Regions from separate parts of the Homo sapiens genome. Here region 2 is linked to region 1. Evidence: promoter capture Hi-C in 16 types of primary human blood cells and fetal thymus (Javierre and others, 2016). All regions are on one chromosome and are shown on one strand. Each heading gives the region's core, a stretch centred on a gene start or on the middle of the fragment in contact. The rest is flanking DNA. Distances are from core to core; before and after follow the strand shown.

Evidence for each region. The method cuts DNA at HindIII sites, captures the fragments that hold promoters and counts their contacts. A CHiCAGO score of 5 or more calls a contact.
Region 2: a contact is called between a fragment that was not itself captured here and the fragment with the promoter of SDE2 in region 1, in 1 of 17 cell types (neutrophils). The highest score is 6.4, in neutrophils.

What each region holds. Positions count from the first base shown.
Region 1 is chr1:225,996,292-226,001,376 of GRCh38, forward strand. SDE2 (spliceosome associated SDE2) reads right to left here and starts at 3,052. Exons shown (of 7, transcript NM_152608.4): 1 at 2,902-3,052. The coding sequence starts at 3,021. RefSeq lists enhancers at 734-783, 2,907-3,016, 3,537-3,686, 3,707-3,806, 3,887-3,936 and 1 more and a silencer at 3,077-3,356. The HindIII fragment of the contact is 16,010 bases long and covers 2,243-5,085 here.
Region 2 is chr1:229,499,844-229,504,928 of GRCh38, forward strand. NUP133 (nucleoporin 133) reads right to left here. Exons shown (of 26, transcript NM_018230.3): 3 at 2,156-2,259; 4 at 913-1,020. Among named protein-coding and RNA genes, the nearest start is that of NUP133, 6.0 kb to the right of the region's middle. The HindIII fragment of the contact is 3,736 bases long and covers 895-4,630 here.

The sequences.
Region 1 (5,085 bases), core at 1,802-4,301:
ATGTAATACATTTTGTATCTGTTTAATGTTTACACATTAGAAGCCTTTTGTATGTCTAATGGGTATGGTATTTCTAAATAATTTTAAAAGATATTAATATGAAGGCAGAAAGTATACACCATGAAAATGATGTATACTTCATTTCCAAACAGAATGGCTTATTAAACAAAACAACTGATCAACAAAATTGCATTTTCTACTTAAGATTCTTGTCAATGAAGTCACAAGCAGAAAAAAGGATACAACATTTAGACTCAATTTAACTGCTTTTAACCATTTGTGCATTGTAAAGTGCTTCAAACACAAATTATCATGTGTGTTTTAGCACAACCAGCCTAAGGCTATCAGAGATAAACCTGTCAAACTTACTGATTCACTGCAACGAGGGGAACTGCACACCAGGAGTCATGGGTATCTCACCAACCCAAAGAAAGGAGTGTCATTACAAGATTTGGGGCTAGGGTGGAGTTGAGGTGAAATTTACATCAAGCAGTGTTTAAAAAGGTTCAAAATAAAGCAGGACTGTATATAAAAACGTCAACATCAGATCTGGATTGTGAAGGCTCCTCTTTCCTTGGAAACTACAAATTTAAGATAAATGTGGAAAGTTGTGTCCAGAAACCCTTAATGGGAAGCTCTGACCTGGGTTGGAAATCAAGAATGCTTCTCTACAAGGCAAGAGTGGGAAGGTTCCCTCTTATTGAGAGAACTTTAAACAGCAAAATTTCTTATATATTCTATGGTTTTTGAGACCAAGGTTTCTCAGTGAATAAGAAAGCAGCAGACCTTCGTGGGGGTCGTTATGACATTATGACACATCACCATTTCCTGTTAACTCTGCAGCTGTACATCGGTGTAGTGTGGGGGAAACAAAAACAAAAAACAAAAACTTTGCAGCTGGCTTTATCTGTGTCTGTTATCCCAGCCTGATGAAAAGCAGGGCAGATTTTTATTTTCTCAGTGGGAGTTAACACTAACTTCATCATGTCTCAGAATAGTTTTGTTTTTAAAAACATAGGTGTGAACTTGAGCTATTCTTACTTGTTCCAGTATCTCAACTAATATTCTTTTGTGTTTCTATTCATATTTGCTATGGTCATGTTCCTTAAGTTTCTGACTGAATCCACTCATTTATATTTCTTTATATATACTTTTTCAGACCGAGTCTTGCTCTGTCACCCAGTTTGGAGTGCAATGGCTCAATCTCGGCTCACTGCAACCTCCACCTCTCAGGTTCAAATGATTCTTCTGCTTCAGCCTCCTGGGTAGCTGGGATTACAGGCGTCTGCCGCCACGCCTGGCTAATTTTTGTGTATTTTTAGGAGAGATGGGGTTTCACCATGTTGCCAAGCTGGTCTCGAACTTCTGACCTCAGGTGATCTGCCCGCCTCGACCTCCCTAAGTGTTGGAATTACAGGCGTGAGCCACCACGCCTGGCCTATATTTCTTGCTTCCGATTTAAAAATTCTTTTTTCCAACATACCTCATGATTAAGATCCTATTTTTTCTGGTTTCACTTTGGATCAATTGTCAGCAAGTTTGAAAACTGTACTCATAGGCCGGGAGGAGTGGCTCAAGCCTGTAATCCCAGCACTTTGTGAGGCTGAGGTGGGCGGATCACCCGAGGTCAGGAGTTCAAGACCTGGCCAACGTGGTGAAACCCCGTCTCTACTAAAAATACAAAAATTAGCCAGGCATGGTGGCGGGCGACTGCAATCCCAGCTATTTGGGAGGCTGAGGCAGGAGAACCGCTTGAACTCAGCGAGGCGGAGGTTGCAGTGGGCCGAGATCACGCCATTGCACTCCAGCCCGGGCAACGGGAGTCAAACTCCGTCGGGGGTGGGGGAGGGGGAGAAAAGAACACTGTACTCATGAAATAAGAATTATTTTCAAAGGAATTAGAATGCAATTATTTTCATGGTCAAAAACAGTTGTGCTTACAGTTTTTAGACTGGATTACAGAGCAGGAAGGAAAACATGGAAAGTGAAAAACCGTATTATTTGCAAACACACATTGCTTCTTCACGGAATCGATCCAAGTCTCTTAAAATTTTGGTCTAGACTGCAGTGTTAACATTTGTTAAGCTTATAAATAGTAAGCAGAGGAAATAGCCGAGGAAAGCACGGATGAGGTGCGGAAAGAACAGAGTTCTAGATCAAGTGCCAACATTAAAATTAGATTCAGGGAAACCACTAAATTCTTTTGACAACTGAACAGGTTTAATATCTTATAGCTGGTAAAAGCTTACTTACTTGAAAGTTCAGTAAAAGCTCACGTGTAACTCTGGAAGTCCCTGGTAGGTTTTCACAAATATGCACGGACAAATGAGACCATCAAATTAATAGTGAACACTTCTACGTAACAGGCCCTAAGAACCCAGGCCCTCAACAGGACACACGTGTGAATGCTTGGTCACAACGACTGACCAGAAGAATCAATTTTCCTTCCCAATCATCCTTTGGCCTGGGTTTGGATATGACATACTTCTCTAGGCTGGGGCTAACAAGGCTGTGTGATGAGTGGACAAAATACACGTCACATAACCATAGTAAGAAGGTGAAGACTGGAGCCTTAAAAATCAGCCGGCCCAACTGCCAGAAGACCATTATATTTACGGATAAAGAAAGAGAAACAAAGTATTTGTAACTGTGAGCGGGACTAAGTGCCTGTAACAGTTTTTTTCTCCCTCTTGGTGGGAAGGCAAAACCACCACCACAAAAGAAAAGCAAAGGAAGGTCTCAGTAACAATTCGAAGCACCTTAACACTGAGGAACTCTCAGCCTCAACGAGTGAAAACCCCAGAGAATAAACGTACCCCCGCCCCGGACAGACCTACTCCGCACCCAGCGCTGCCACCTGTCTGCCTCTTTCTCCTTCCTAACAGGAACCGAAATCCTCACCTGATCTTGGCAGTGCCGGTGGATAAAATCCCGGACGGTGCACCGACCCGAGGCACACCGCACCGCCTTGCACCCGAAGCCAGGGCCGCGAATCCACACCAGCGCCGCGGCCTCCGCCATGTCACCGACTACCCGAACCTCAAGCCTCTCTGAGACACCAGGCGCCGCAACTCGCCCGGCGCCTCTTGATGACGCGAGCATCTTCCAACGCCCCGCCCCTCACGCTTCCGTTCACCCCTCCCCTCCCCTGGGGCGGGTCAAGTGAGCCGGGCGGCGGGGCGGTGCGGGCTGGGGGAGGGGAACAGGAAAGGCCTGGCGGAGGCAGATAAGGCGGCAGAGCACGGGGCGAGGCGTTGCTAGGAGAAGTTGCTAGGGCGGGGCTCGAGGGACCGGCTATAAAAGGCTGGCGCTGGGTTAGGTTTCGAGCTTCCTGGCCGTAAGCGATAAGGCTTTAACTGAGAACCACCTTGTGCTGTAGGCTTTGGCCCTTTTCCTCACATCTGTGTAGTTATTTTTGGGTCGCGGAGAATTGTGGCCCGAGAAGGCTCTGCTCCTTGAGAGTGTGGGGAGAGAAGCTGCAGTCCCGGAAGCGGTTTTAGGGGGCCGCTTCCTTGGCCTAGAGGAGCTCCCCAACCCGAGGGGGCAAGGGAAACGACCCCCAGGAGGCCCCTAAACAGTGGCCGGCGTGGTTTCTCCTCCAGCTTTACAGAGCCTTCTCTTCCCCTCCAGAAACAGCCAACCTCCGGGTTTCTGCCTGCCACGCACGGTTTATTCTTATTTCCGCCTGTTTGTGCACTGCGTTATCTCCACTTCAGCTCTGTTTTCAAAATATTTCACAGCAAGTGGGCTCTTGTGAAAGGCAGTGACAGGAGTGACGTTTATAGTCATGCTGCTTCAAAAAACCCTACCATAACTTTTATTCTGCACCATGGAAACACACTCGGACAGATTTGCATAACGTAACCTTAAGGCTCAGGGAATCCGAAAGAGTCCCTTAATATTTAACAGAATGAGATTATGGTATTTCTAAAACCCTGAACAATTCAAAAGCCACCAGTGTGAAGATAGGAAGGTTATTTGGAGATATCTGTGCCTGCTAAACACAAATGCATCGGCCCACAGAATTGCCTTCTCTGCTGTTAAAATGCTTGGCAAATGGAACTCCTAGCTGAGGGGGTAACAACAAAAAATTCAGAAATCGTTTAGCGGTGGCAGTATGTGCGAAAATGGAATTTCAAGGCCTGGGAAGTTAATAGATTCAGTGGTCTTTATTTCACACACGAGGGAAAGTTGGGGAGAGAAAGGGCCTCCATGGGGATGCCAGTAGATAAATAAAAATTACAAAAAAAAAAATAATAAAGATAGATTGTACTGGCCGGGCGCGGTGGCTCATGCCTGTAATCCAGCACTTTGGGAGACTGAGGCGGGCGGATCTCGAGGTCAGGAGTTCGAAACCAGCCTCACCAACATGGTGAAACCCCATCTCTACTAAAAATACAATAATTAGCCGGGCGTGGTGGTGCGCGTCTGTAATCCCAGCTATTCAGGAGGCTGAGGCAGGAGAATCGCTTGAACCCGGGAGGCAGAGGTTGCAGTGAGCTGAGATCGTGCCATCGCACTCCAGCCTGGGCGACAGAGAGAGTCTCCGTTTCAGAAAAAAAAGATATATTGTACCTAGGAAGCAGTATTTCGGAAAGGTGGTGCCATGGCAACCCTGGGGCGTGAAGGTGTCGCCAGGTTACATGTAAGCCGTCCAAACTCCAGAAACCTCAAGTCCCTCTGCAGTCTGCTCCCCAGCTCTCTGTCCTCCAGGTTCCTGAAAAAGTAATCTACAGATCTGAGCCTTAAGCCTCTTCTTTTTTTATTTGTGATTTCTTCCTTCTGGTGATCAAAAATGACTATTTCAAATAAATAAATAATTTTTTTAAATGACCATTTCAAAGGTCTGAGATCCTACAAGTAACTGTATAAAGGTCAGTTTGGGTTTCCAAAACATTTTTTGTGTCGGGATAATGCTTCGTGTCTTGTGAGGAATTATTATGATTAGTCTTTTTTTTCTTTCTTTCTTTCTTTTTTGAGACACTCGCTCTGCCACCTGGGCTGGAGTGTAGTGGCGCAATCATAGCACACGCAGCCTTGAACTCCTGGGCTCAAGTGATCTGCCACAGACTCCAGATGGATTAC
Region 2 (5,085 bases), core at 1,513-4,012, 3.5 Mb after region 1:
CAATCACAATAAAAGAGGAACCCAAAAACCAGCAGTCTGATGGCAATGATACAAAGAAACAGGACAATTTACTATTTGATCAAGAAAAATCAGAAATAAGAACTCACCAGTGTTTTGGTTTGCATTTTTCTAATGGCTAATGATGCTGAACATCTCTTCATGTGCTTATGTGCCATCCTTATATCCTCACTAAGTGTCTGTTCAAGTCCTAGCCCCTGTTTTTAAACTGCATTGTTTTCTTATCAAGTTTAGAATTTTAAAAAATATTCTGGATACAAGTCCTTTGCTGGATACATGATTTGCAAATTCTTCTTACTCTGTAACTTGTCTCTTCATTTTCTTGTCTTTGGCAAAGCAACGCTTTAAATTTTTATTTTATTTTAATTTTATTATTAATTTTATCAAACTTTTCTTTTATGGATCATGCTTTTGGTGATTTCCAAGAACTCTGTCTAATCTCAGGTCATGATGATTTTCTTCTGTTTTCTTCTAAAAGTTTTACTGTTTTACATTTAGATCTATGACCCATTTCAAATTAATCTTTGTAACAAGGTATGAGGTTTAAGGGAAAATTCAATACAATACAATACAAATTGGTCATTTGTAATTTTAAAATTACAAATGTTCCTACACTATGCATTGATACAGAGAAAAATCATCGTCAAAAACCATCCTTTCTGAATTGCTTTTGCACCTTCATCAAAGACCAAATGGGTGCCTTTATGTGGATCTATAACTGTATTCTCTATTCTGTTACACTGACCTATGTGTGTAGCTCTCTTTGCCAATACCACAATATCTTGATTTCTATAGGTTTATAGTTATATCTCAAAATCAAAGAGGATGATTCCTCTAACTTTAGGATGTCCTTGTTGTAAAAAGTTTATTTAAATAAGCTTTTAAGTCACCTACCTGAGTAGAATGTGCTTCACCTGAGGGAGAAGAGTAAGAAAGAGCCACTAAGTCGGCACTCCAGTGGAAATCACTAGGTGGCAGCTGAAGTTCTTTGCAAACGGATAACTGTAGAACAAACCCAAACAGAAAATCTTTCACATCAAATCCAGTATTTTGAAGATGCATCTGATTTCCCTTCTCTGCATATTTTAGATTCTGACTCACTGCTGGAAACACCATTCTACAAATATTCTTTCTTCTCACATCTCCTTTTAATCAGGCTTTCAGTAATTTTAAAACAAAGTATCTTAAGAGTATTGAATCATGAAAACTTAAAGGTAGACCAAACTCTGAAGAACAACTATCCTAACCTCTTCCTGGGCTAGAAAAGTCCAGTTAAGAGAAGACTAAGTAAGGTTAAGATGAGTGCTTAGGCTTCCTATGGAACTTTCCCAATTTACTCTTGATTTGTTCATCTGACATTTAAAATTAGCATGACCAAAGAGTAATTATACCAAGTTACCTAGGAAACAATTTCTTAGACTCTCAGCCAAATATCAGGATCCCGCAGCTAACTCAGTATGTCCCCCAGGAATTCACCCTCACCTATTACTCCTAACCACATACACCCTTTTCTAGGCAGCAGTAACACAGAGTTCAGCAGAAGTGAAGAATTGAGGTAAGCAGGAGCCCTGAGTTCCAACGGAACATGGCCAAGGAAGTAATGACTGGTAGAAGAGAGTAGTGTATCTAAGCTGTAACAAACAGAAAAAGGTTGCTGAGGATACGTTACTAGACATGCAAATGATAACCCACTGTTGGAAGTGGACAAGTGAAAAGTTTAACTAGCAACTGGTATCATATTTTCTTATTTTATTAAGCATCATTCAGTAGGTTCAACAAAACATAGTTCTGTCTTCTCAGAAATACGCAAACTCAAAGTTCATTTGCTTATGTGGATAGCATTTAGTCTGATACTTCATTAGGCAGACGGATTAGCATTATATTCATTGGAAATATCAATGACTCTAATTTTATTAAATGTAAACAACACAGATCTTCAAAAGGGGGAAACTTTTTTCCCAATACACAAATGTGTATGCATGCTCATTATTTCACATCACTATGAAAATGCAAACTCTTAATGCCTAAGTAGTTTCCTATTGACTATCCTCCAACTGTAAAAAAATTAGGGTAAAAATGAAAAGTCAATTGGCATTCCTCTCCTCTATCTTGTTCCAGCTCTCTAAAGAGCCATTACCTTAGTAATAGGTGACAGAGCAATCTTCCAAATAATGAGCTTCTCTTTGCACACCAGACAAGCCCATCCACCTTCATCTATGTTAATGGTCAGCTGGTCATCGACTAAAGGAAAAAATGAGGTGGGTGATTAATCTTATAGTATAAATCTTTATTACCACACGCTTTATCAAAAAAAAGTAATTGGCACACTCAGAAACGACTACCTCACAACAAATACTTTTGAATATTCCAAAATTATCAACACCAAAAACAATAGATCTATTAACTCTGATAACCAACTTTAGAAATATATCTAACGCCTGTAATCCCAGCACTTTGGGAGGCCGAGGTGGGAGGATCACGAGGTCAGGAGATCGAGACCATCCTGGCTAACATGGTGAAACTCCAACTCTACTAAAACTACAAAAAATTAGCTGAGTGTGGTGGCACGTGCCTGTAGTCCCAGCTACTTGGGAGGCTGAGGCAAGAGAATCGCTTGAACCTGGGAGGTGGAGGTTCCAGTGAGCCGAGATCGTGCCACTGCACTCCAGCATGGGCAACAGAGCCAGACTCCATCTCAAAAAAAAAAAAAAAAAAAAAAGAAAGAAAAAAGAAATATATCTAAAGGCAAAAAGTGTATTTGGGACATTTAATATTCCTTAATTTTTTGTTACAAACAGACCAGATAGCTTATTTCCTATAAGACATATTTAGGCCAGGCACAGTGGCTCATGCTTATAAATCCCAATATTTTGGGAGGCCACCCTGGGAGGACTGCTTGAGGCCAGCCTGGGCAACATAGTGAGACTCTCTCTCTTAAAAAAAAAAAAAAAAAATAGCCAGGCTTGGCAGTGCACTTCCCAGCTACTAGGGTGACTGAGGCACAGGAGAACCACTTGAGCCCAGGAGATTGAAGCTGCAGTAAACCATGATCACATCACTCCCACCTGGTCAAGAGAGCAAGACTCCATATCAAAAAATAAGTAAGCAGAAACAACAAAAGAGAGGCCAGGCAGGGTGGCTCACGCCTGTAATCCCAGCACTTTGGGAGGCCGAGGTGGGTGGATCATGAGGTCAGGAGTTCGAGACCAGCCTGGCCAACATGATGAAACCCCATCTCTACCAAAAATAGAAAAAAAAATTAGCCAGGCATGGGGGCATGGTGGCGTGCACCTGTAATCCTAGCTACTCGGGAGGCTGAGGCAGGAGAATTACTTGAACCTGGGAGGCAGAGGTTGCATTGAGCTGAGATCGCGCCACTGCACTCCAGCCTGGGCAACAGAGCAAGACTCTGTCTCAAAACAAACAAACAAAAAAGAAATATTTAGCAACATTTATAATTATATCGATAAAGTAAAACAAATAACAAACTCATTAACTATATAAAACATTTCAAGGAAAACAATGTGCTTTTGGAGGACCAAAAGCACATAATTTTCAAATAAGAGCTCCTTAAAGGAATGATAAATTATTTAGTACATGGAGACAAAGAGTTACGTTCTCTATTAAGTGACAAAACTAAATTAGCACATATCTTAAGTATTGGTGGTAAACCTCCACAAATGTGTTAACAGCCCTGGAAATTTTATTAAGTTGAGCTTTGCTCTTTACTTACAGAAAGGTAGAAGGGTGAAGTAAAAGGCATAGACAATGTACAAGCAAAAATATCAAACCAAGCCCAGGCTGAGTGAGGCTTTTTGCTCAACTGAACTATCTGCTCAGTAATTTTCTTTTTCTTGAAAGCACTACAACTCCAGATCCTCGACCGGTGTGCCTTTAAGGGCTGACTTAACAGTAGTTGGCAGGTTTCTAAGTGGGGAAGAGTTCTTCAAGTTGACACACCTCTTTGTTTTATATATCCTAATTTCTAAGGACTCTCTGAATTTCTAGATTTGGGGCTGTGTTATTTAATCTAGTCTGTTAAAATATGAGTAGTACATTAAAAGGTTTAAATGTAAACTGAAATTTTTAGAGGGGAAAAATATACACATATATACCAATATATATATATACATTTATTTATTTAAAACAGAACAATGTATAGAAAGGTTAGTAGTTGTCTGAAAACAACTATCCCTAAAGCTCCCAAGGACCTACAGGCAAGATGTGCCAAGTTCCAGTTGATGAGATATATTCCTTCTTCTAAAACAGAGTAATTTCAGCATTTTTTTTTTACTGTTATTAAGTTATACAGTAAATAGAGTTATTCACAGTATAATACATTTTACATCACGATACACCCATATACAATTTAAGTAAAACGAACAAAATTTACTAAACATATGAGATGCATTCTATTTCTTCTTTTTTTAAATGCTGGTCAAGAACCGCTAAATTTTGGTCACCCCTACAATTTGAAAAATACTGTTCCAGAAAAATCACAAAGATCTAGAATTCAAGCCTTAATAAAAATGACTTCAGCAGATATTAAGGCTGCTCTGAACTTTGCTCTTCCAGTGTCATCCAACTGCTCATCTTTAAAGTTGCCTTTCTAAGCTTGTGTTGATTGTATCTGTCAAAATTCCACACTAATTCTCCACCAACAGACGCTTCTAAAGGTACACCACGACAATGGTAACGTCATAAATTTGTGCACACAGCCTCTGGGATGCTACATAGGATCCAGAAATGGAGGTAGGACTTGATTTTACTGTATTATTAAACCCAATAACATGAGGTGCCAGTTTTGGGGTTTCACGGGAAACTTCATAAACCTGATCAACTCTGTAAACAGGACTGAATTTTGCATATACAGTATTTCCCCCTTTTATCTGCAGTTTCAAATACCTGTGGTCAATCGTAGTCTGAAAATATTAAATGGAAAATTCAAATGAACAATTCCTAAGTTGTAAATTGCATGCTGTTCTGGGTAAAGTGATAAAATCTCATACTGTCCTGCCTAAAGGTTGTGAATCAACCCTTTGTGCAGCATATCCATACTGTATACCC